Regions from separate parts of the Homo sapiens genome. Here all the other regions are linked to region 7. The links are contacts of gene promoters, found by promoter capture Hi-C in blood cells and fetal thymus (Javierre and others, 2016). All regions are on one chromosome and are shown on one strand. The core of a region is centred on a gene start or on the middle of the fragment in contact, and the rest is flanking DNA. Distances in the headings are between cores, read along the strand shown.

Region 1 (2,970 bases), core at 276-2,775, 800 kb before region 7:
TGCAAACACAGCAGCCCTGCAGGGCGGGCAGCGGCCCAGATGGCCTGACATGCTGATATGTGCAAGGAATGCAGGGCTTTTGTCTTTTGTTCCCTGGTCAACCAGCTGCTGCCTGAAGGCCACATGGAGCCTGCGGGCATCAGCTGAGCCTTGGTTCCATTGCCTATGCCTGGGCTACCTTCAGCAAGTCATTTAACCTCTCTGGGTCCTGGTTTCTTCATCTGAGAAATGACAGAGGGGTTTGGATGAGCTTAGGGCTTTGACATCCAGATGCTATCCTTGGACTCATGTCAGTTTCATCAGTACTCGTGTGTGTGTGTGTGTGTGTGTGTGTGTGTGTATTCTTTTTGCACCAAATCAGAGTGAAATTAGCAACATTTGGCAATTAATGCATTTTTTTTCCCCAAGACTCAACTCTTAAACAAAGTTCTGAGTGTTTGACTTTCATTTTAAATAGGTGGCCGTCAGGGGGAATTACATGGCTCCTAAAGAAACACACAGACATTATAATTAAAGAGATGCCAATCTTGACAGGTAGTAGGAGAGGAGAGAGGATGTGACAATGAGAATGGAGAAGGGGAGAGGGGAGCTCAGAGCCGAGCTGGACGGGATAAGCCAGGGAAGTGTCTCCACTAGGGTGGCAAGCTTGGTTTCAGCATCAGCACCCAGACTGCCACTCTGCTCATAGTGACCACAGCAAGACCCAGAAGGGGCGCCATATGGTTTGCAAGGCACTTTCACAATCTCTGTTTCTTAGGATCCCATAACATTCTAGAAATGCAAGTTAATTAATCCCATTTCGCGGGTGAAAAAAGTAAGACCAATGGTCAGTTCCCTTATTTTGGCCACAAACCAATAATGCTACAAACTGATTCTCCCCTCTAATCCCAAGTTGAGCCCTGTCCCGGGCTGAGCCCCACCCCTGCCCCACCCTTAACTCAGACTGAGCCCCCCCGCCTCCCACCACTGAGCCCTGCCCACCACCCCAGGCTGAGAGGTGCACCCAACCCAGGCTAGACCAGTTAAGCAGCAGCCAAATCCATTCCACTGGATCTAAGATAGATGGTCTCTAAAAGTGTAGATGACCCAGAGAAGCCTCCTTTTTTTTTTTTTTTTTTTTTTTTTTTTTTTTTTGGCTAGGGTCAGGGCTCAAAGCTCAGGGTCCCTGGACAGTGAGGGAGGAGTGGGTGAGGAATGGCTGGGAGAACCCTGGCCTGCCAGGAGTCAACCCAGAAAGAGAGGTTGTGAACTCTGGCGTGGAAGAGCTGATGGGGCCACCCTTGAGTAGATTCCATATGTCCAGGCCAGGTGAAGTGGACTCCTTCCCAGTTGGTGGTCTTTCCTACACACACACACACACTCACACACACACACACACACACACACTCACACACACACACACACACACACACATGCTGTCCCTACCACCTTTGGTGGCCCTGGTGGCTCCTGTGGCCTGCCTGAGGCAGGTGCCTGAGGGACTGTGCTGTCTGACTAGCCTGGGCTAGACTACCAGACTCCCCATGTGACCTTGGTTAGGTTCTTGCACCCTACACCTCATCCGTACCTCCTGGGCCTCTGGGCCGGTGTGCTGAGATCATGGGGATGAAGGGCCTCTGGCCCAGCAGGTGCTCAGCAAGGGTGAGTTTCTTTCCCTCTTCCCTTTGAATCTTGCCTCTTCCCTCAAGGCTGACTGGCCCATCCTCCCCCAACTCCCACAGTGGGCTCCCCCTCTGACAGGCACCTCATTAGCAGAATCTCTGTAAATAACGCCAACGAGTTAGAGTTACAACAAGGTAGCTCATTAAAGGCACTTCGCTTGTCTCACTTCCCAATTAGTGTTTCTGTGGGTGCAGCTGCCAGGACTGCGGTGACAGGGCACCCTCGGCATGTCATGGTGCCTGGGCAGGCCTGGGTCACCCCAGGGGAGCCAGTGTCAGCAGTCCCAGGAAGAGGGAATGGGCAGCCTGGCTCACTCCAGCTCAGCAGCCCTGCATGGTCATCCTGTGACAACTGGTAGCACACAGCATTTGCACCCACCGCGTGGAGCACCCAGCTGCTGGGGCACCCCAGAGATGGACCCAGACTTGGACTTGGTTTTGGTTGGCGAGTCCATTCCTCCATCCCAACCCTTGTATGGTCCACTTCCACTCCAGCTGACTCCATCAAAACAGACCTGTCCCATGTCCCATCTGCTCCATCTTCCTCTTATCCTCTTTCATGGGTGACCTCGAGTTTTCCACTGCAGCTCCTTGGGACCACATTCTTTCCCTTGAGTACTGAAGTCGTCGATGACAACTTCAGTATGACAACAATGGTGGGAATTTCAGGCTAAAAAGGAAGAAGACAGCATGCCAGAGAGGCCTTGGGATGCGTGGGTGATGATGTCCCCAGGACAAGCTTGCCAGGTTGCAATTTTTATCCATGTTTCTATACATAATGAAACAGGCTCATAGAGGGTCAGCCATTTGCCCCAGATCACGCAGCTGGTAGGTGCCAGTGCTGAGGCCAGGGCCGAGATCACTCTAGAGCCTGTGTTAGGAGCTGGCTACTTACCTGTGCCAGCAGGTTAATGGGAGTGGAAAGTGATTCTCTAGTCCTTCCCTCCCTCCCTGCTCCCTCAGCCTACCCCTGTTCCATCTTTTTTCCAACTAGGTTTCGATCCCCTGGCCACACTTCCTTCTGTTTTCACTTTGGGTCTGCACTTTCTCTTTTACTTTGGGAAGGAAACAGCTCCCAATTTCTCTCCCTCTTGCTGAATCGATAGCTTAGCTGGGCAAGGCAGAACATGAAATTTACATTCAATGGTTTCCATGGCAACCACCGTGCTGGACCAGTTTCTCCTGCTCTTGGGGGCACAGTCTTTTGAGAAGAGCCAGGTATCAAAAACTCAGCTCCCTGAGAATGTGGCAAGGGTTTTAAACAGAACTAGAGAGGGCTTGAGTCCCCTTGACCATCAATTTTTCTGGC
Region 2 (2,973 bases), core at 105-2,604, 930 kb before region 7:
GCATCCTGTCCCCATGGAAACCAGACCTCTCACTCCTTGTAACACCCTTCTGGTTGCACTTAGAGTGAAGTCGAGTTGCATGTGGGACCTGGCCCTGCCAACCTTTCTGGTATCAGCTACCCTGGCCTGTTTTTTGCCCTTGGGACAGGCCAAACCTGTTTCTACCTCTGGACTTGTGCATCTGGATCTTAGGTGATTCTCCCTGGAATGTTCTTTATCTCGATCTTTCCAAGGCTGGCTCCTGCTTATTTATTGAGATCTCGGCTCAAAATGTCACCTTGTTTGACTACCCAGTCCAAGCAGTACCTTTATATTCATTGGGATTTGGGCTAGCTGTTGAAACAAAGGCTAGGATAATAAAATAGATTATTTTTATCTATGCAGGCAGCCTCTGTGCAAGCTGTCCAGTACATGCACGGAGGCCTCATTGTGCTGGGGACCCAGACACCTTCTTTCTCATTGCTCTGTTACCCTCGTACAGGGTTTCTGCCTCGTGGTCTGAGGAGGCTGCTCTTGCTCCCACTGTCGTATCTATATTCCAGCCACCGGGAAGGGAGGAGGGCATGATCTGAAATTAGCAGACCTCACTCTGCTCGTGTCATATGTTTATAACAAAAAAAAAGTTCTTTTTAAAGACAAGTCAGGGTTTTTATCTTTGTTGGGCCTCTGTTTTAGAGTTTATGTCTTCACACCATGGGATTAGATCAAATGACAGGCTGAAGGACTGTCAGCCTGTCTCAGCTCGTGTCCAGTTGGATAAAACTCAGCCACATGGCCACACCCAGTTGCAGGGAAGCTGGGAAAGGTCCCCATTGTGCTGGGAAGCGATGTGTAAGCTAAACTCCATTGGTTCCATCACTAAAGGGAAGGGTAGATGTTGGGGGAACCCAGCAGTCTCTACTGTGTTTCTTGTCATTCTGCTCCACCTCTCTGTTTTCTTCACTTAGCATTTATCTCTAGAAGTTTGCTTCTTTTTTTTTTTTTTTTTTTTTTTTTTTTTTTTTAGACAGGGTCTCACTCTGTGGCCCAGCCTGGAGTGCAGTGGTGTGATCATAGCTTGCTGCTGCCTGCTGCCTGGAGCTCCTGGGCTCAAGTGATCCTTCCACCTCGGCCCCACCGAGTAGCTAAGACTACAGGTATGCACCACCATACCTGGCTAGTTTTTTAAACTTTTTGTAGAAATAGCGTCTTGCTGTGTTGCTCAGGCTGGTCTCAAACTCCTGGGCTCAAGTGATCCTCCCACCTCGGCCTCCCAAAGTGTTGGGATTACAGGTGTAAGCCACTGTGCCCTGTCAAGTTTGCTTTTTTTTTTTTTTCCAAGTTTGCTTTTTAAATAGGGTTTTCATGCTTGTTGTTGGCTTCACCTTGCTGTGAGGGCAGGGCCTTGTCTGCTCTGTTCCGTGCCACGTCCAACCACCTAGACTTGTGCCTGGCACCCAGTAGGTGCTAGTTAAGGTCTGCTGAGCAAATAAAAGCACGTGTGGGCTGGGCATGGTGGCTCACACCTGTAATCCCAGCACTTTGGGAGGCCGAGGTGGGCGGATCACGAGGTCAGGAGATCGAGACCATCCTGGCCAACGTGATGAAACCCCGTCTCTACTAAAATACAAAAAATTAGCCGGGTATGGTGGCACGTGCCTGTAGCCCCAGCTACTCGGGAGGCTGAGGCAGGGGAATCGCTTGAACCTGGGAGGCAGAGGTTGAAATGAGCCGAGATCACGCCACTGCACTCTAGCCTGGAGACAGAGCAAGACAATGTCTCAAAAAAAAAAAAAGCATGTGTGAATGAAGGGTGGGCTTCTTTGCCCCCCTCCCAACAGTAGGGAAGGAGCCATCTTCTTTCTTAGGATCTACTATGTGTCAGGCATTTGTTCTCTTTAATATTCCCCATCACTTGAAGATTGCAGCTATGGCCTCATTTTATTATTTTTAATTAATTAATTTATTCTTTTTTGAGGCAAGGTCCCACTCTGTCACCCAGGCTGGAGTGCAGTGGCACGATCATAGCTCACTGCAGCCTCGAACTCCTGGGCTCAAGCCATACTCCCACCTCAGCCTTCCTATTAGCTGGGACTACAGGTATGCACCACTATACCTGGCTAAGTTTTGTGTTTGTTTGTTTCTTTTTTTTTTTTTCTGAGATGGAGTTTCACTCTTGTTGCCCAGGCTGGAGAGCAATGGTGTGATCTCAGCTCACCGCAACCTCTGCCTCCTGGGTTCAAGTGATTCTCCTGCCTCAGCCTCCTGAGTAGCTGGGATTACAGGCATGCACCACCATGCCTGGCTAATTTTTTTTTTTTTTTTTTGAGACGGAGTCTTGCTGTGTTGCCCAAGCTGGAGAGCAATGGTGTGATCTCAGCTAAACGTAACCTATGCCTCCCGGGTTCAAGGGATTCTCCTGCCTCAGCCTCCCAGGTAGCTGGGATTACAGGCATGTGCCACCATGCCCGGCTAATTTTTTTGTATTTTTAGTAGAGACAGGGTTTTTCCATGTTGGTCAGGGTGGTCTCGAACTCCTGACCTCAGGTGATCCACCCGCCTTGGCCTCCCAAAGTGCTGGGATTACAGGCGTGAGCCACCGTGCCTGGCCCTAATTTTGTATTTTTTTTTTTTAGTAGAGGCGGGGTTTCTCCATGTTGGTCAGTCTGGCCTCAAACTCCCAACCTCAGGTGATCCACCTACCTCAGCCTCCCAAAGTGCTGGGATTACAGGTGTGAGCCACCGTGCCCAGCCTTTTTTTTTTTTTTTTTGAGACAGAGTCTTGCCCTGTTGCCCAGGCTGGAGTGCAGTGGCACGATCTCAGCTCACTGCAACCTCCACCTCCCGGGTTCAAGCCATTCTCCTGCCTCAGCCTTCCAAGTAGCTGGCATTACAGCTGGACGCCACCATGCCTGGCTAATTTTTGTATTTTTTAGTAGAGATGGGGTTTTGGCATGTTGGCCAGGCTTGTCTTGAACTCCTGACCGCAAGTGA
Region 3 (2,775 bases), core at 18-2,517, 880 kb before region 7:
CTCAAGAGATGAGGTCTATTGTCTCTATCTATATTTTGTTGACTGTGTTCTTCCTTCCTTACACTTTGAGATTCCTTCTTTTCTCATTTTATTTGTTTGGCAAACTTCCTTTAATCACTCCTTTTGGGTAGGTCTGCTGGTGACAAAGTCTCTGTTTTTTTTTTCTTCTGAAGATGTCTTGATTTCCTCTTGATTTCTGAAGGATATTTTCACTGGATGTAAGATTCTGGGCTGAGAGTTCTTTTCTTTCAGCTCTTGAAAATTGCTGTGCCACTTCCTTTTGGTCTCCATGGTTTCAGTGAGAAATCTGCTGTCATTAAAATGGTTTTCCCTTACAGGTAAGATGCTGTTTCTTTTTTCTCTCTCTCTGTCGCCCAGGCTGGAGTGCAGTGGCACAATCTCGGCTCACTGCAACTTCTGCTTCCTGGGTTCAAGCGATTCTCCTGCTTCAGCCTCCCGAGTAGCTGGGACTACAGGCGCGTGGCACCATGCCCGGCTAATTTTTTGTATTTTTAGTAGAGATGGGGTTTCACCGTGTTAGCCAGGATGGTCTCGATCTCCTGACCTCGTGATCTGCCCGCCTCATCCTCCCAAAGTGTTGGGATTACAGGCGTGAGCCACCGCACCCAGCCTGTTTCTGTTTTTTTTTTTTTTTTTTGAGGTAGAGTCTCTCTCTGTCTCCCAGGCTGGAGTGCAGTGGTGCGATCTTGGCTCACTGCAACCTCTGCCTGTCAGATTCAAATGATTCTCTTGCCTCAGCCTCCCTAGTAGCTGGGATTATAGGCATGCGCCATCACACCTGGCTAATTTTTGTATTTTTAATAGAGACGGGGTTTTGCCATGTTGGCCAGGCTGGTCTTGAACGCCTGACCTTAAGTGATCTGCCCTCCTCGGCCTCCCGAAGTGCTGGGATTACAGGCGTTAGCCATGGCGCCTGGCCAAGATGTTTTTTTCTTGCCACTTTCAAGATTTTTGTCTTTGTCTTCAGTTTTCCGAAGTCTCAATAGAAGGTGTCTTGGCATAGGTTTGCTTTGATTGATGCCATTTGGGGTTTGCTCAGGTTCTTGAATCTGTAAATTTATGTCTTTTGCCAAATTTAGGAAATTTCTAAACATTATTTCCTTGAAAATCTTTTCAGCTCCACCCTCATCTTTCTTCCTTTCTGGGTCTCTCACGACATGGATGCTAGGCCTTTTGTAATAGAGAGACCAAAATATAGACCAAAATGTATATAGGCCAAAATATACATACCCGAGATTCTGCTCATTTTTATCTAAGTCTATTTTTTGCTTTGTTGTTCAAATTAAGTAATTTCTATTATTTTATCTTTAGGTTCACTGACTCTTCCCTCCAGCCTCTCTGTTCTGGCGTTGAGCCATCCACTGAGTTAATTTTGGCTGTTGCGTTTTCAACCCTGAGTTCCCATTTTGTTCCTCTTTGTGGCTTGTTTCTCTGCAGAGATTTTCTATTTTCTCACTTGATTCTGTTGTGTTTGCCGTTGAGCATTTTTGTGATGGTGGCTTCAAATTGTTCAGATGATGCTGCTGTTGGTGTCATCCTGGGTTAGTCTCTGCATCTCTTCTCATCAGGGTCGGTGTTTTCCTGGATCCTGGTGTGGAGTGATTTGTGATTGAAGCCTGGATATTAGGGGTTATGTGGTGGGGCTCCTGGCCTTATTTAAACCTCTGTCTCAGCAGCCTCCTTTGAGGCCCGGCTGTGGTGGACTTCCTTGCCCCCAGCTGGGCTTCTCCAATACCTTCCCAAGGAGGGGTGGCATCTCAGTCAGTACATCTGGGTGAGGGTGGAGGTCTAGGCTCCCTCCTCAGTCTCTGCTGGCCAGGGTGGTGTGGGGCCTCGTCTTTTCCTGTGTGGTCTGATGGCGTAGGTCAGTTATCTTCTAAAGTTTTCCAGAATGCCCCTTGCCTGGCTAGAGGGAGCAGGTTTTTTTGGGGGATTGTTTTCTGAGCCTGTTGGTATTTCTAGGTTGCTGACTCTTTAGCACCCAGTTTGGCAAACACGAAGCAAAAAGATGGAACTCACCACCATGCTGTTGCCAGGTCCTGAGGCTCCCAGCTTGTGCTTCTCTGCACATGTTAGGGCCTCCTTGTATTCATTCTACACAGAATACCCATGACTTTTAGCTGTATTTGGTGGGGGGAAATAAGAAAAAGTACCTTGACTTCTTCCATCTTTCTGGTTGCAGCAGTTCCAGTGGGTAAAGCCCTTTGAAATTGCACACATACACCATCCTCTACGCCAGCCTCCTTCAAGATTCTGAGCTGTGCACTGCTGTTATTCATACTGTTTGTCTGCTCTAATTGTCCAATTCTTGTGAAAAGTCTAAACATGACCTTGGGTGATACCCTGGGGTGCATAGAGCAGAAAGCCAAGCTATAATGAGAGGTTCCTTGGATCTCAGAGGGTGGGCAGGGTCTGGAGGCAGGGCAGCTGGGATGGGGCTGGGCTGAGGTTTGGAGAGGCCTGGGTCCAGGCCAGACGAAAGCCAGTCCTTGGATCCACAAACACCCACAGCCAATCCATGCTAATTCTACGCATTCATGAGTTGTCCTCTAAAACTCTTCTTCCCAATTTCCTCCAAAACCCTCCATGTCATCTAGGCCAGGGTCTACTCTATGCCCCTTTGCTGTGCTCATGGAAACTTTTTTTTCTTAACTTCAAAGACAAGTGAGCTCATGGAAACCTCTCCATCGTTGACCAGGATCTATAGGAAAACCCTCCTCTTCTTCTATATGCAAAGGCTGCACAGCTCCTGGT
Region 4 (2,809 bases), core at 131-2,630, 910 kb before region 7:
GAGGGAAATAAGTCGGATGCTTGGGTTGCAAGTTAGACCCTACTTCTAAGAGTGACCTTGGGTGAGTAATTTTACCCTCTGGGTCTCAGTTTCCTCTTCTGTAACATAGGGACGATAATATCTCTTCCTGTCGGGTATTAGCCGATCTATAAAATAGCTGTTGCTCAGAAGGCTCTTGACAACTGTGGGTTCTCCAAAGAGACGAGAACTTGGCTTATTTCTCCAACATCTATGTGTGTCCTCATGCTAGAATCACATTCACAGGCCTCGGCTGCTAGGAATGATTCTGCTCACTGCCAGCTGAGAGGGCAGGGACCCAGATGAAGTTCTCTTCCAGAATAAGTCAGCAATCTGTCCAAGATGGGGAAGACTTGCAGGATGGGGAAGACTTGGCGATAGAGCATATTATGTGAAGAAAGAGGGTCCAAAGTGGTCACTGGCTGACTTGTTCTATGGAAAGGCCCAAGCTGGCAGTGAGTCCATGGAACAGGCAGCAGGGGGTGGGGAATATGGGGCTGCTCCACCTGGCTGTGAGACAGCGCGGAGTGTGATGGCTATGTTAGGTCTGATCTGCCACTCCAGAGCCTGCTGCAGCCAGCCTGGGGAGCAGCTGGGTTCCTAAAACTGTAATAGACAGTGGTGGCTCCACAGAGCAGGCACACCTAAGGGGAAAATCAGCATTGCATTGGGAACGGTGAGGTGACATCACAGAACCTGAATTCTCACTCCTTCTGCAGATTCTCCTTCTTCTTTTTTTTTTTGACAGAGTCTCACTCTGTCGCCTAGGCTGGAGTGCAGTGGCACAATCTTGGCTCGCTGCAAGCTCTGCCTCCCAGGTTCACGCCATTCTCCTGCCTCAGCCTCCCGAGTAGCTAGCTGGGACTACAGGCACCCGCCACCTCGCCCGGCTAATTTTTTTGTATTTTTAGTAGAGACGGGGTTTCACCGTGTTAGCCAGGATGGTCTCGCTCTCCTGACCTTGTGACCCGCCTGCCTCGGCCTCCCAAAGTGCTGGGACTACAGGCACGAGCCACAGCGCCCGGCCAGATTCTCTTTCTTTACCTCCTTCTCTGCTCAGCATCACCTTCCCAGAGCAACACAGCTGAACAACCACACTAGAAAGCAGCCCCTTTTGTTGTTCATCTATCCACACAGAGGAAACAGCAGTGAAGAAACCAGACAAAAATCCCCACCCTGAAGGGGCTGATATTCTATTGTGGGAGGTAGATAATCCAGCAGACACACATAGAATCTGCAGAGGTTTATACAGCAGTGAGTGCTAGAAAGAAAAACAAGCAGAGAAGGGGAAGGGGAATTGTTGGGGTGGGGAGAAGAAGCAGAAAGTGTGAATAAACTGTGCAGGAAAGACTTAGGAAAAAGTGACTTCGGAGTTAAGATATGAAGAAAGTGAGGGGGCTTCATTGTGGGTATCTGGGGAAAGAAGTGGGCAGCCGAGAGTATAGTAAGTACAGAGGGAACATATATCACCATGGAACAGTAAGTGCAGGGGAACAGTAAGTGCAGGGGAATAATAAGTGTAAGAGAAACAGGAAGTACAGTGGGAACAGGAAGGGCAAGGGGAACAAGGAGAGCAGGGGAATAGTAAATGCAGGGAAATAGGAAGAGCAGGGAAACAGCAGTGTAGGGGCACAGAAAGGGCAGGTGAACAGTAAGTATGGGGGAAGAGTAAGTTGGGGGTAACAGTAATTGTAGGGGGATTAGGAAGTGCAGGGGGACAGGAAGTGTAGGGGAACAGGAAGTGCAGGATTAATAGTAAGTGCAGGAAACAGTATCAGCAGGGGAACGGTAAATGAGGGGCAAATAGCAAGTGCAAGGAGGCACAGTAAGTGCACGGGAAGAGTAAGTGCAAGGGGAGCAGTAAGTGAGGGGACAGTAATCAAAAGGTGAATAGCAAGTGCGGGAGAACAGTAAATGCAGAGGTAACAGGAAGTGTAGGGGCAACAGGAAGTGCAGAGGAAATAGTAAGTACAAGGGAACAGGAAGTACAGGGGAACAGAGGTGTGTAAGCACAGGATGTCTGGGGACACAGGAAGTGCAGGGAACAGTAAGTGATGGTGGAACAGTAAGTGCTAGGGTACTGTAAGTTCAGAGGAAACAGTAAGTGCACAGGAATGATAACTATAGAGTCCTGCTGTTGTTTTACCCCTGAGACTCCTGTTCACAAATTAACTGTGCTAACTTGTTTGTTAACACAGTTTCTTGTTGATCTCCCTTATTGTGTAAGTTCCATGAAGGCAGGGATTTTGGTATGCTTTGTTTACTGCTCTCTCCCCAGTGCCTAGGATAGTGACTGGTCTTATTGAGTGCTCAGTAGCAATTTTGTTAAAGGAATGGATGGATGAATGAATTGGTGGGTGCTGTAGGGTGGGGAATGCTGAAGGATGGGAGGCTATATCTGATGTTTGACAGTGAAATCAAGCAGCACAGTCCCGATAGCTGGGGGTGTGTGGCTGGGGCTCAGGGCTGAGGCCACTGAGATGGCTCCCAGGGAAGACAGATTCTGATCCAGGACCAGGAATGCCAACCCGGGGCAGCTTGAGATAGGCCACACTGATGGCTAGAAGGGCCAATGCTCTGACCAGGGCTGGCTGGTCAGAGCATTCCATCCTGAACGTGCCTGGCCTGATTAGATGTTCCAGCTGGCAATGCCTGAGGGTATAGTGCATCCTCAGGAAGTGCTAGAGCTCTGGGGCAGGTGGGCATAGGTAAGGGGCCTGGGGTAGGAAAGGGGAGTGTTCTCTTCCTGATCTCCCATGTCAAGTATCATATAAAGGGACTCTGGGGACCA
Region 5 (3,017 bases), core at 276-2,775, 810 kb before region 7:
CCATCTTTTCAGTGTGTGCAGGGGGGATGGTTAGGCGACACACAGCCTAAACGTGAGCAAAGCCAGTGATCCTGCCACTATGGTCCTGTCCTTGAGTGGTGCCATGAGGCCAGGAAGGCAGACAGGATGATGGCGGCACCAATTCCACATCACCTGCCAGGAGGCCCCAAGCCGCCCCCTGATCAGAAGCTGCGCGTCTCCAATTAGTCGCCCAGGTGACACACACCAAATCAAAGTCGACACTCTAAATGGGCCAATCAATAGCTCCATTTTCCCCTTCCCACCCTGGTGGGGGAGGGAAAGCTCATTTATGAAACCTTTTCTTCCCCTCATCTAGCAGGCATAAGAAAGCCCAAAGAAATTTGTTTCTCAGTTGCCCTCTGAGACAGCAGGTTTTCCTCTGAAATGTTTTGGGAAACATCTGTGGGGGCAGCCAGAGTCTCATCTTCTGGCCTGAGTGCCTGTCCTCCCATGGCCCTGGGTCAGGATCATGGTGGGGGCAGAGAGGCCTGTCTACATCTCTGCTGTTAAAGCAGAGGGTGCCCCTGCTCTGCCAGGACATAGAGCCCCTGTGTCACCTCAGCCCAAGGGTAGTCCTTCCCCAGGCCCCTCACTCTGCTCCTGGGTGGGGTCAGGCCCCCGATGCCCCCAGGCCTGGGTCCTCTCCTTTCCCTTTCTCAGCCCCTCCCAGGCTGAGACAATCCTTTTGGAGACATAATGTCTGGCAAGAGCCTGCCCCTGCCCAACATGGCATCAATTCATCTTGGTTGAGTGGGTGGTGGGCTGCTCCCTTTTTCCCATGCCTCCCCTGAGCTCTGGCTCAAAAGCTTCTCCCACCTTTGACCCTCTCACCAGGTGTCCTGGAGGCACCTCAAACCCAGCAGGCTCCATACTGAGCCCAGCACCCTCCCCTACACCTGCTTCTCCTCTGTGTTCTCACCTTGGGGAGAGCCCCAGGTTCTACCTGGTCACAGGGGCCAAGAATCTGAATCTGATCTGTGACTTGTCCCTGGTCCCTCTCCATCACTCACCTGGTGTTTGCCATTCTCTCTCCTGCCTCCTCCATATTCCTGTGGCTACCTCTTGTTTCAAGTCGTCACCCTCTACCTGGACCACAGCCATGCTCCTGACTGTGACAATCAATCACTCTCCAGACCTCTGGCCCCCACATTCAGCTCCCACCTGTGCCACCAAAACATTCCCCAAACCCTAACTGTAACCATGTTGCCACCTATTCAAGACCACCCCTGCTTCCTCGTCCTGCTCCATCTCAACCTGCACCCAGCCCTGCTTGTGACACTCCTGACAGAGAATGGCTTTGCCTTCCATGTCGACCCCTCCAGCCTTTGCTTGTGTCATTTCTTCTGCTAGGAATTCCCTTCTCATTTCTGGTGGTCTGCCCCTCTTCCCCATCTAAGCTTTCCTGGACTACCTCTTCTGGCTCCCACAGCCTCCTGGACCTGCCTCCTTCTCGGAACTGACCACAGAGACTCGCAACTACTCCCACCTGCCTCCCAAGACTGAGATCCTGGGATGTCCCCTTCCTCTCCGCCTTCTTGGCAGCAGCCCGCACAGAGCAGTCCATGCAGGACTTGGTCTACATTTGTGGGCAGCAGTGAAGCTGAAGCTTCTCCCTAATGGGGATGCTGGGGTCACCCAGTCATGTTCACTGCAGAGCAAGTTCTCCTGTTGGGTCCAGCTCGCCCACATCCAGGGACCTGGCCTGCAGCTTGGGAGGTTCTAGCCTCCAGGTGACCTGGGATTGTAGCCACAGAGAGCCTCTGGTGGTCTGGGCCCTTCTGCCCCAGAGGAACCCACCCTGGACTGGAGGCGGCCCCCACCCCCTGCCTAATTAACATCCAGAGCGGCTGTCTGCTTCTTTGCTCCATCTCATCTCCAACATTTTTCATGTCTAATCCACCGAGGAGATCTCCTGAAGGCTTTGAAGTCTCTGGGCGCGTGAATAAAGATGTCACCCTGGCACTCGCCGTGCTTCTTAATGAGCATGGGTTTGATGTGGAAGCCGCAGCCCTGGAAGGAAGCAGTCCGCCCCCAGCTGCCACCGCCCCCATTGCATCAGGGCGGCCAGGCCTGCCTGCAGCAGGCGAGCGGGGGTGGGGCTGGGAGAGCCTAGGTTTGAAGCCAGAGCTAGTTAAGGGAGTCTGGGCCAGGCAAGCTGCAGGAGGAAGGGGAGGTGGATGGCACTTATGATTCCCTCCTCTGCCCTCCCTGGCCAGGGACCCCCATGCCCCGTGCCCAAATTCAGGGACCCAGATCAGGCAGGGAGAGTTGGCTTAGGTGAGAGTGCAGGTCAGGGAAAGACGAGGGCAGAAGAAAGTGCCTGGGGATGGGAGGAGAACATGCCTGGTTGGGGGATCAGGGAGGAGGTGGCACCTGCAGTGGGCCTGGGTCGAGGCAGTGGGAGGTTCTTCCCAGGAGTGGCTGGCTCCACTGGCCCTCCATCTCTAGGAACTCCCACCAGCACTCTCACCTCTGTGCCTGAAGACAAGGGGCTCTAAAGCAGTGGATGGGAGCCAGGCTGGCGCCGGGCTCGCTGGGATGAATCCCCTCCATTGCCTGGATGAGGCAGGAGCCTCTCTGTGCCTCAGTTTCCTTATCTGGAATGTGGGGCTGATACTAGGCTCTACCTTGTGGGGGTGTTGGATGACTAGTGAGGCCATTATGTAAAGGACTAGAAATGCCAGATGTATATCACTTCTAACAGTATTACTGGAAGAATGTATCTGGGAGGCCAGGCCTGTGTGGGCCCTGGACCCCATCCTGCTTCCTCAGCCCTTGTCATCTGGTTACTGGCTGTGCCCCTGGTTGGGTCCTGTCATCAGTTGACTTGGAGCATCATGGGTATAAGGACACCACCCTGAGTCCTGCTGAGCAGGGGTCCCATATTCCTGCTGGTGAAGTTGGCCTCGGGGACATCCTCACTTTCTCTTGGAGACACCTGCACCTGCACCCCTCAGCCCCTGCAACCTGCACCCCTCTGCCCCTGCAGCCTGGAC
Region 6 (2,994 bases), core at 449-2,948, 850 kb before region 7:
TTCCCATTTATTTAGATCTTTAAAATTTCTTTGAGCAATATTTTACAGTTTTTAGAGTATAAGTTTTGCTCTTCTTTTGTTAAATTTATTCCTAAGCATTTTATTCTTTTTGAATTGTAAATGAAATTGTTTTCAATGTAAATGAAATTGTTTTCTTAATTTTATTTTGGATTGTTCATTGAAATTGTGTAAACATATAATTGATATCATGCAAAGGAAAAAATAAGAGAGGAAGGTAATCTTGATGACAGTGTTTGAGACCTGGTTTCAGCTAAAGTGTATATTATTCCTTGACCATTCAGTTATCACTACTACCACTATTGAAATTACTACTATTACTATTTTGATTTAGTCTTCTCTTACTTGCAATCAAATGTTTATTGATTTGTTACTTGTATATTTTGGTTCAGCAATTAAAATAAATGTACTATAGTAATAGAAGATGTTAATATTAGAGGTTAGAGGGCTCTGGGTGTAGGATATAAAGAACTCTTTGTACTATCTTTGCAACTCTTTTTAAAATTTAAAACTATTCTAAAATTAAAGGTTTATTTAAAAATACAATTGATTTTTTTTTTTTGACAGACCCTCACTCTGTCACCCAAGTTGGAGTGCAGTGGGGCAGTCTTGGCTTACTGCAACCTCTGCCTCTCGGGTTCAAGCAATTCTCCTGCTTCAGCCTCCCAAGTAGCTGGGACTGCAGGCCTGTGCCACCACACCTGGCTAATTTGTGTATTTTTAGTAGAGACTGGGTTTCACCATCTTGGCTAGGCAGGTCTTGAACTCCTGACCTCAAGTGATCTGCCTGTCTCCACCTCCCGAAGTGCTGGGATTACAGACGTAAGCCACTGCGCCCAGCAAAAATACAATTGATTTTTGTATATTAATTTTGTATTCTGCAACCTCGCTCAACTCATTTATTAGTTCTAATAGTTTTTTAATAGATTCCTTAGGATTTTCTATTTTCTTTTTTTTTTTTTTTTTGAGACAGCGTCTCACTCTGTCACCCAGGCTGGAGTGCAGTGGCACAATCTTGACTCACTGCAACCTCTACCTCCCAGGTTCAAGTGATTCTTGTGCCTCAGCCGCCCCAGTAGCTAGGAGTACAGGTGTGTGCCACAATGCTGGCTAATTTTGGTATTTTTAGTAAAGACACGGTTTTGTCATGTTGGCCACGATGGTCTCAAAATCCTGACCTCAAGTGATCTGCCTGCCTCGGCCTCCCAAAGTCCTGGGATTACAGGTGTGAGCCACCATGCCTGGGCCCTTAGGGTTTTCTATGTACAAGATCATGTCATCTTCAATAGATAGAGTTTTACTTCTTTCTTTGTGATCTGAATGCCTCCTGTTCTTTTTTCTTGCCTAATTACCCCAACCGGAACCTCCAGTACAATGTTGAATAGAAATGGTGAGAGCATACATCCTTGTTTTGTTTCTGGTCTTAGGAGGAAAGTATCCAGTTTTTTACCATTGAGTATAATTTTAGCTCATTTAGCTGTTATTCTATTGGTATGGTGATTTAATTGATTTTTAGTTGTTGAAACCAAGCTTGCATTCTTAGGATAAATCGAACTTGGTCATGGAGTTTGATTTGTTTTATATGTTATTAAATTTGATTTGCTAGTATTTTGTTGAGGATTTTTGCATAAGAGGTATTGGTCTGTAATTTTCATTTCTTGTGCTATCTTCACCTGGTTTGGATAGTAAGATAATATTGGCCTCATAAAATGAATTGGAAAGTATTTCCTCCTCTTTTACTATTTGGAAGAGTTTGTGAAGAATTTGTATTAATTCTTCTTTAAGTATTTGATAAAATTCAGTGATTAAGCCATTTGGACTTAAGCTTTTCTTTATGGGTAGTTTTTGATTACTAATTCGATCTCTTTACTTGTTAAAAGTCTATTCAGATTGTCTATTTACTTTTGAGTCAGTTCCTGTAGTTTTGTTTTTGTCCTTCTATGGAAGGACATTTCTTCTAATTTATTGAGTTTTTTGGATACAATTGTTCATAATATTTCCTTATAATCTTTTTATTTCTGTAAGGGTAGTAGTAATGTCTTCTCTTTAATTTCTGATTCTAGTAATTTGAGTCTTCTTTCTTTTCTTATTGAACAATCTAACTAAAGGTTTGTCAATTTTGTTGATCTTTACAACAAACTGGCCTTGAATTAACTGCTTTTCTTTATTGTTTTTCTATTCTTTGTTTCATTAATTTCTGCTCTAGCCTTTATTATTCCCCTTCTTTGATTGCTTTAGGTTTAGTTTGCTCTTCTTTCTCCAGTGTCTTAAGGTGGAAGATTAGGTTATTGATTTGAGATCATTCCTTCTTCTTAATATAGGCACTGCAGCTATAAATTTCTGTCTAAGCACTGCTTTAGCTTTATCCTATAAGTTTTGGTATGGTGTGTTTTCATTTTCATTCTTGTCAATGTATTTTTAAATTTGCCCTTTTATTTCTTTTTTGACCTATTGGTTATATAAGGGTGTGTTTAATTTCCACATATTTCTGAGTTTCCCCAAATTTTCCATTGTTGATGTCAAATTTTATCCCAATTGTGGTCAGAGAACATACTTTGTGCTAGTTCTATTCTTTTAAATTTGTTAAGGTTTGTTTTATGGCCTAATATACGGTCTATCCTGGGGAATGTTTCATGTGCTCCTGAGAAGAATGTATATTCTGTTGTTGTTGAGTGGAGTGTTCTATAGAGATGTCTGTTAGGTCTCATTGGTTTATAGTGCTGTTCAAGTCTAATATTTCATTATTAATCTTCTGTCTAGTCTTTCTATCCATTATTGAAAGTGAGGTTTTAAAGTCTTCAACTGTTATTGCTGAATTGTATATTTCTCCCTTAGTTTCTGTCAATTTCACTTCATGTATATTGATGCTCTGTTATAAAATGCATACGTGTTTATAATTGTTATATCTTCCTGATTGATTGACTCTTTTATCAGCATGAAATGTCTCTCTGTCTCTAGTAACAACTTTTTTCTTTT
Region 7 (2,908 bases), core at 184-2,683:
CCCCCACTTCCTGGGGCCCTGATCGCATTTCAGACTTGTGCCCTGACAGGTGGCAACTGCAGGGGAGAAGGGACCCTGTGGATATTTCTGAATGTCACTGGACCCATCAATGTCTGTTTCCTTCAGGCTGCCCATGTCAATGACCCATCAATGTTGTGTGATGGGCCAGGCTGTGCCATGCAAGAGTGTCATGGTCTGTGCCCCTGATTACTCCCCCTCACGGCTCAAAGAGGAGGACCCAAGCTAATGTGAAAATCACAGGCACTGTGATTGGGTGCTAGATGAAACTTCACGCAGGGACCCGGCCAGCCCTGCGACCTCCCTGAGGGCGACGGCTGGGGACATGGGTCATGTCCACAGATTAGTCTCAGGGAAAAGGAGGATGCACCTGACTTCAAGGCCCGTAGCTTCCACACACTCCCCCCTCATCCTGGACATGTGTCCTCACCTGAACAATGGCCCCATGACTGGTTGTGCCTCATGGGACCCAGGAGATGGAGAGACGCAGCCACACCTCATAGGAGCAGGGCGGCCAGCCTCATTCTCTGCCAAATCCGCAGCGCCCAGCACAGTATCTGGCACATGACAGGCACTCCAGCATCGCTGAGTGCACAGGTTAACAAAAAGCATAAAGTACCTACTAGGCTCCTTCCCCTGCTCTGGTTATTGCATGGGTTCCGCCTAGAGGACTTAACTGAAATGTAAAGAATTGTTGAGAAGAAGGAAACTCCAGGTTTTTGTTTTTGGTTTTGTTTTTTTTTTTTGAGACGGAGTCTCGCTCTGTTGCCCAGGCTGGAGTGCAGTGGCGCCATCTCGGCTCACTGCAAGCTCCGCCTCCCAGGTTCACGCCATTCTCCTGCCTCAGCCTCCCAAGTAGCTGGGACTACAGGCACCCGCCACCATGACCGGCTAACTCAGTCACTGCAGGCAAGTTCAGCTCCGAGGTCTTCCACTCATCCACCGAAATGGACAGAGGATTCCTCTTCTCGCGGTTTCAGAGTCCCTTTGTTAGGGGCGGCTCTGGAATTCTATGTAGAAGGGAACTGACGGGTAGCAACCTAGGAAACTCATTAAAGCTGCATTGCAATAGCAAACGCAATATATTTATTTAGCTTGTGTGATCTAAACTTTTAAAAATATCAATCTTTCCAATTCACACTTCCCATAAAAATTGAAGAACGTATATTTTAAGGTGGTTTAAAGGGGCTGTTGGGGATTATTAGGAGTAAAAGGCATTGCACAGAGGCCATCTCAGAGCGCCATCGCCAAGATTGGGTGGTCTCCGGACGCAGGCACAACCTGGAGATAAAGAGGCTCGCGCTTGGTACCCGCCCCTTTGCGAAGGGCAGGTGACACCTAGGCTGCGGGCGGGCGGGGGACCCAATTTCGCATGCGCGGGGCGGTGTTGGGGGGCGGGGCGAGCGGCTGCCTCGCGGATTCGCGCGGGTGGTGAGAGTGGCCAGCGAGGGCAGCGTTCGCCGCCCCTCAGGCCCCGTCCCGGCGCCGCAGCCGCCTGCGTTTCGGTTTGTGAGCAGGCCCGGCCGGGCCAGGAGCGAGAGCGAGACTCTGGAGCGGTCGCCGCCGCAGTCGCCCGGGCCGGGAAAGGCGGGCGATGCCCCCAACCGCCGCTCGGGCCATGTCCGAGGGGCGCGCGTGTTGTCGCCGCCGGGGCGCCGTGCCCGCCTGTCGTCCCCCGGGCCCAGCCGCTCGTCCGAGGCCCGCGAGGAGCTGCGCCGCCACCTCGTGGGCCTCATCGAGCGCAGCCGGGTGGTGATCTTCAGCAAGAGCTACTGTCCCCATAGTACTCGGGTAGGCGCGGCCCTCGCCGGTTCCACCGCGCGCGACCGGGCCCGCCACGCGGACGCCACCCGGGGCAGGGCGGGTCCGGGCCGGGGCGCCCGCGGGTCCCGGGCTGCGGCGGTGAGGTCAGCCGTCCGTCCTCTCCTCTCCCCGGTCGTCCCCTGAGGTGGGCTTGTGATAGTTTATCAAAACAGAAACTCTCCTAATTGCGTGACCTCGACCCGGGTTAGGACCCTGTGCAGAGCCTCAGTTCCCCCGTTTGTGAAACGAAGGTACGGGAAGGTTGTTAGGACGACTGAGGTAATTTCAGCTTCATGCACACTGCCTTAACTTTTCGGGGCGGACTAGGAATCCGGCATTATTTCTAAGGACAAATGTATTCTGTGTTTAAGAATACTTCACTTAGAAACGAGCCTTTGGGTGATAACCTACGTGTAAGGTACAGACTTTCAACGTTTAGGAATTTACTTCATTTTACAGAAAGTTGAAAAATGATACGTGGAAGACAGTATGCAAAAGCATAAACTATTGGGTTGAGTTCATGAAATTATAGGCTGTGTTTTTCAAATATATTTGAAGTTTACATTGATGTGTATAGTTTCTTAAAACATATATTATGCATATATATTTTTAAGAATAATAAAGTGACACTAGTACTGTAGAAGCTTCCTTGGCTGTCTCCTCCCTCCCTCAGGGTTAACCACTATGCAAAATTTCCTTTTTTTTTTTTTACATTTTTACCAAATATATATATTATTCATCAATATTTGGTTCCTTTTGGCCTGTTTTGGGACTTGATATAAATAGAACCATACATACATAGGTATTCTTCTGCAGTTTTCTTCCTCAACAGTTATGTTTCAGAGATTCATGCATGTTAGTATCTGTAGCTGGGGTTCATTAATTTTCGTTGCTGACTATTCCCTGGGATGAATCGTACCGGAGTTTATCATTCTGCTGTTTTTGGTATTTTGGTCTTAAAAAACAGTACAGCTATATGTTTATTCTTGCACGTAACTCCCAGCGCATTTATAAAAGACTTAACTCTAGAATAGGTATCTTGAAGCTGAGTTGCTGGGTCATAAAGGATGCATGATTTCTACCTTAG

What was found. The method cuts DNA at HindIII sites, captures the fragments that hold promoters and counts their contacts. A CHiCAGO score of 5 or more calls a contact.
Region 1: a contact is called between a fragment that was not itself captured here and the fragment with the promoter of TXNRD3 in region 7, in 4 of 17 cell types (endothelial precursors, naive CD4 T cells, megakaryocytes and 1 more). The highest score is 13.2, in endothelial precursors.
Region 2: a fragment that was not itself captured here is called in contact with the fragment with the promoter of TXNRD3 in region 7 in 1 of 17 cell types (naive CD4 T cells); the score reaches 5.7 in naive CD4 T cells.
Region 3: a fragment that was not itself captured here is called in contact with the fragment with the promoter of TXNRD3 in region 7 in 6 of 17 cell types (naive B cells, endothelial precursors, M0 macrophages and 3 more); the score reaches 6.3 in naive B cells.
Region 4: a contact is called between a fragment that was not itself captured here and the fragment with the promoter of TXNRD3 in region 7, in 5 of 17 cell types (naive CD8 T cells, naive CD4 T cells, non-activated CD4 T cells and 2 more). The highest score is 8.2, in naive CD8 T cells.
Region 5: a fragment that was not itself captured here is called in contact with the fragment with the promoter of TXNRD3 in region 7 in 3 of 17 cell types (total CD8 T cells, M0 macrophages and endothelial precursors); the score reaches 6.9 in total CD8 T cells.
Region 6: a contact is called between a fragment that was not itself captured here and the fragment with the promoter of TXNRD3 in region 7, in 1 of 17 cell types (erythroblasts). The highest score is 6.4, in erythroblasts.

The regions. Positions count from the first base shown.
Region 1 is chr3:127,449,529-127,452,498 of GRCh38, reverse strand. No RefSeq gene overlaps it. Among named protein-coding and RNA genes, the nearest start is that of LINC02016, 60 kb to the right of the region's middle. The HindIII fragment of the contact is 1,755 bases long and covers 648-2,402 here.
Region 2 is chr3:127,582,479-127,585,451 of GRCh38, reverse strand. The region is part of intron 1 of TPRA1 (transmembrane protein adipocyte associated 1); the gene reads left to right. Among named protein-coding and RNA genes, the nearest start is that of MIR7976, 3.2 kb to the left of the region's middle. The HindIII fragment of the contact is 8,588 bases long and covers 1-2,973 here.
Region 3 is chr3:127,528,616-127,531,390 of GRCh38, reverse strand. The region is part of intron 5 of LINC01471 (long intergenic non-protein coding RNA 1471); the gene reads left to right. Among named protein-coding and RNA genes, the nearest start is that of LINC02034, 7.3 kb to the left of the region's middle. The HindIII fragment of the contact is 5,147 bases long and covers 1-2,775 here.
Region 4 is chr3:127,559,449-127,562,257 of GRCh38, reverse strand. No RefSeq gene overlaps it. Among named protein-coding and RNA genes, the nearest start is that of MIR6825, 14 kb to the left of the region's middle. The HindIII fragment of the contact is 7,886 bases long and covers 1-2,809 here.
Region 5 is chr3:127,466,646-127,469,662 of GRCh38, reverse strand. No RefSeq gene overlaps it. Among named protein-coding and RNA genes, the nearest start is that of LINC02034, 69 kb to the left of the region's middle. The HindIII fragment of the contact is 209 bases long and covers 1,421-1,629 here.
Region 6 is chr3:127,504,979-127,507,972 of GRCh38, reverse strand. All of the region lies in intron 5 of LINC01471 (long intergenic non-protein coding RNA 1471), which reads left to right. Among named protein-coding and RNA genes, the nearest start is that of LINC02034, 31 kb to the left of the region's middle. The HindIII fragment of the contact is 295 bases long and covers 1,551-1,845 here.
Region 7 is chr3:126,653,649-126,656,556 of GRCh38, reverse strand. TXNRD3 (thioredoxin reductase 3) reads left to right here and starts at 1,433. Exons shown (of 16, transcript NM_052883.3): 1 at 1,433-1,809. The coding sequence starts at 1,567. The HindIII fragment of the contact is 4,771 bases long and covers 1-2,467 here.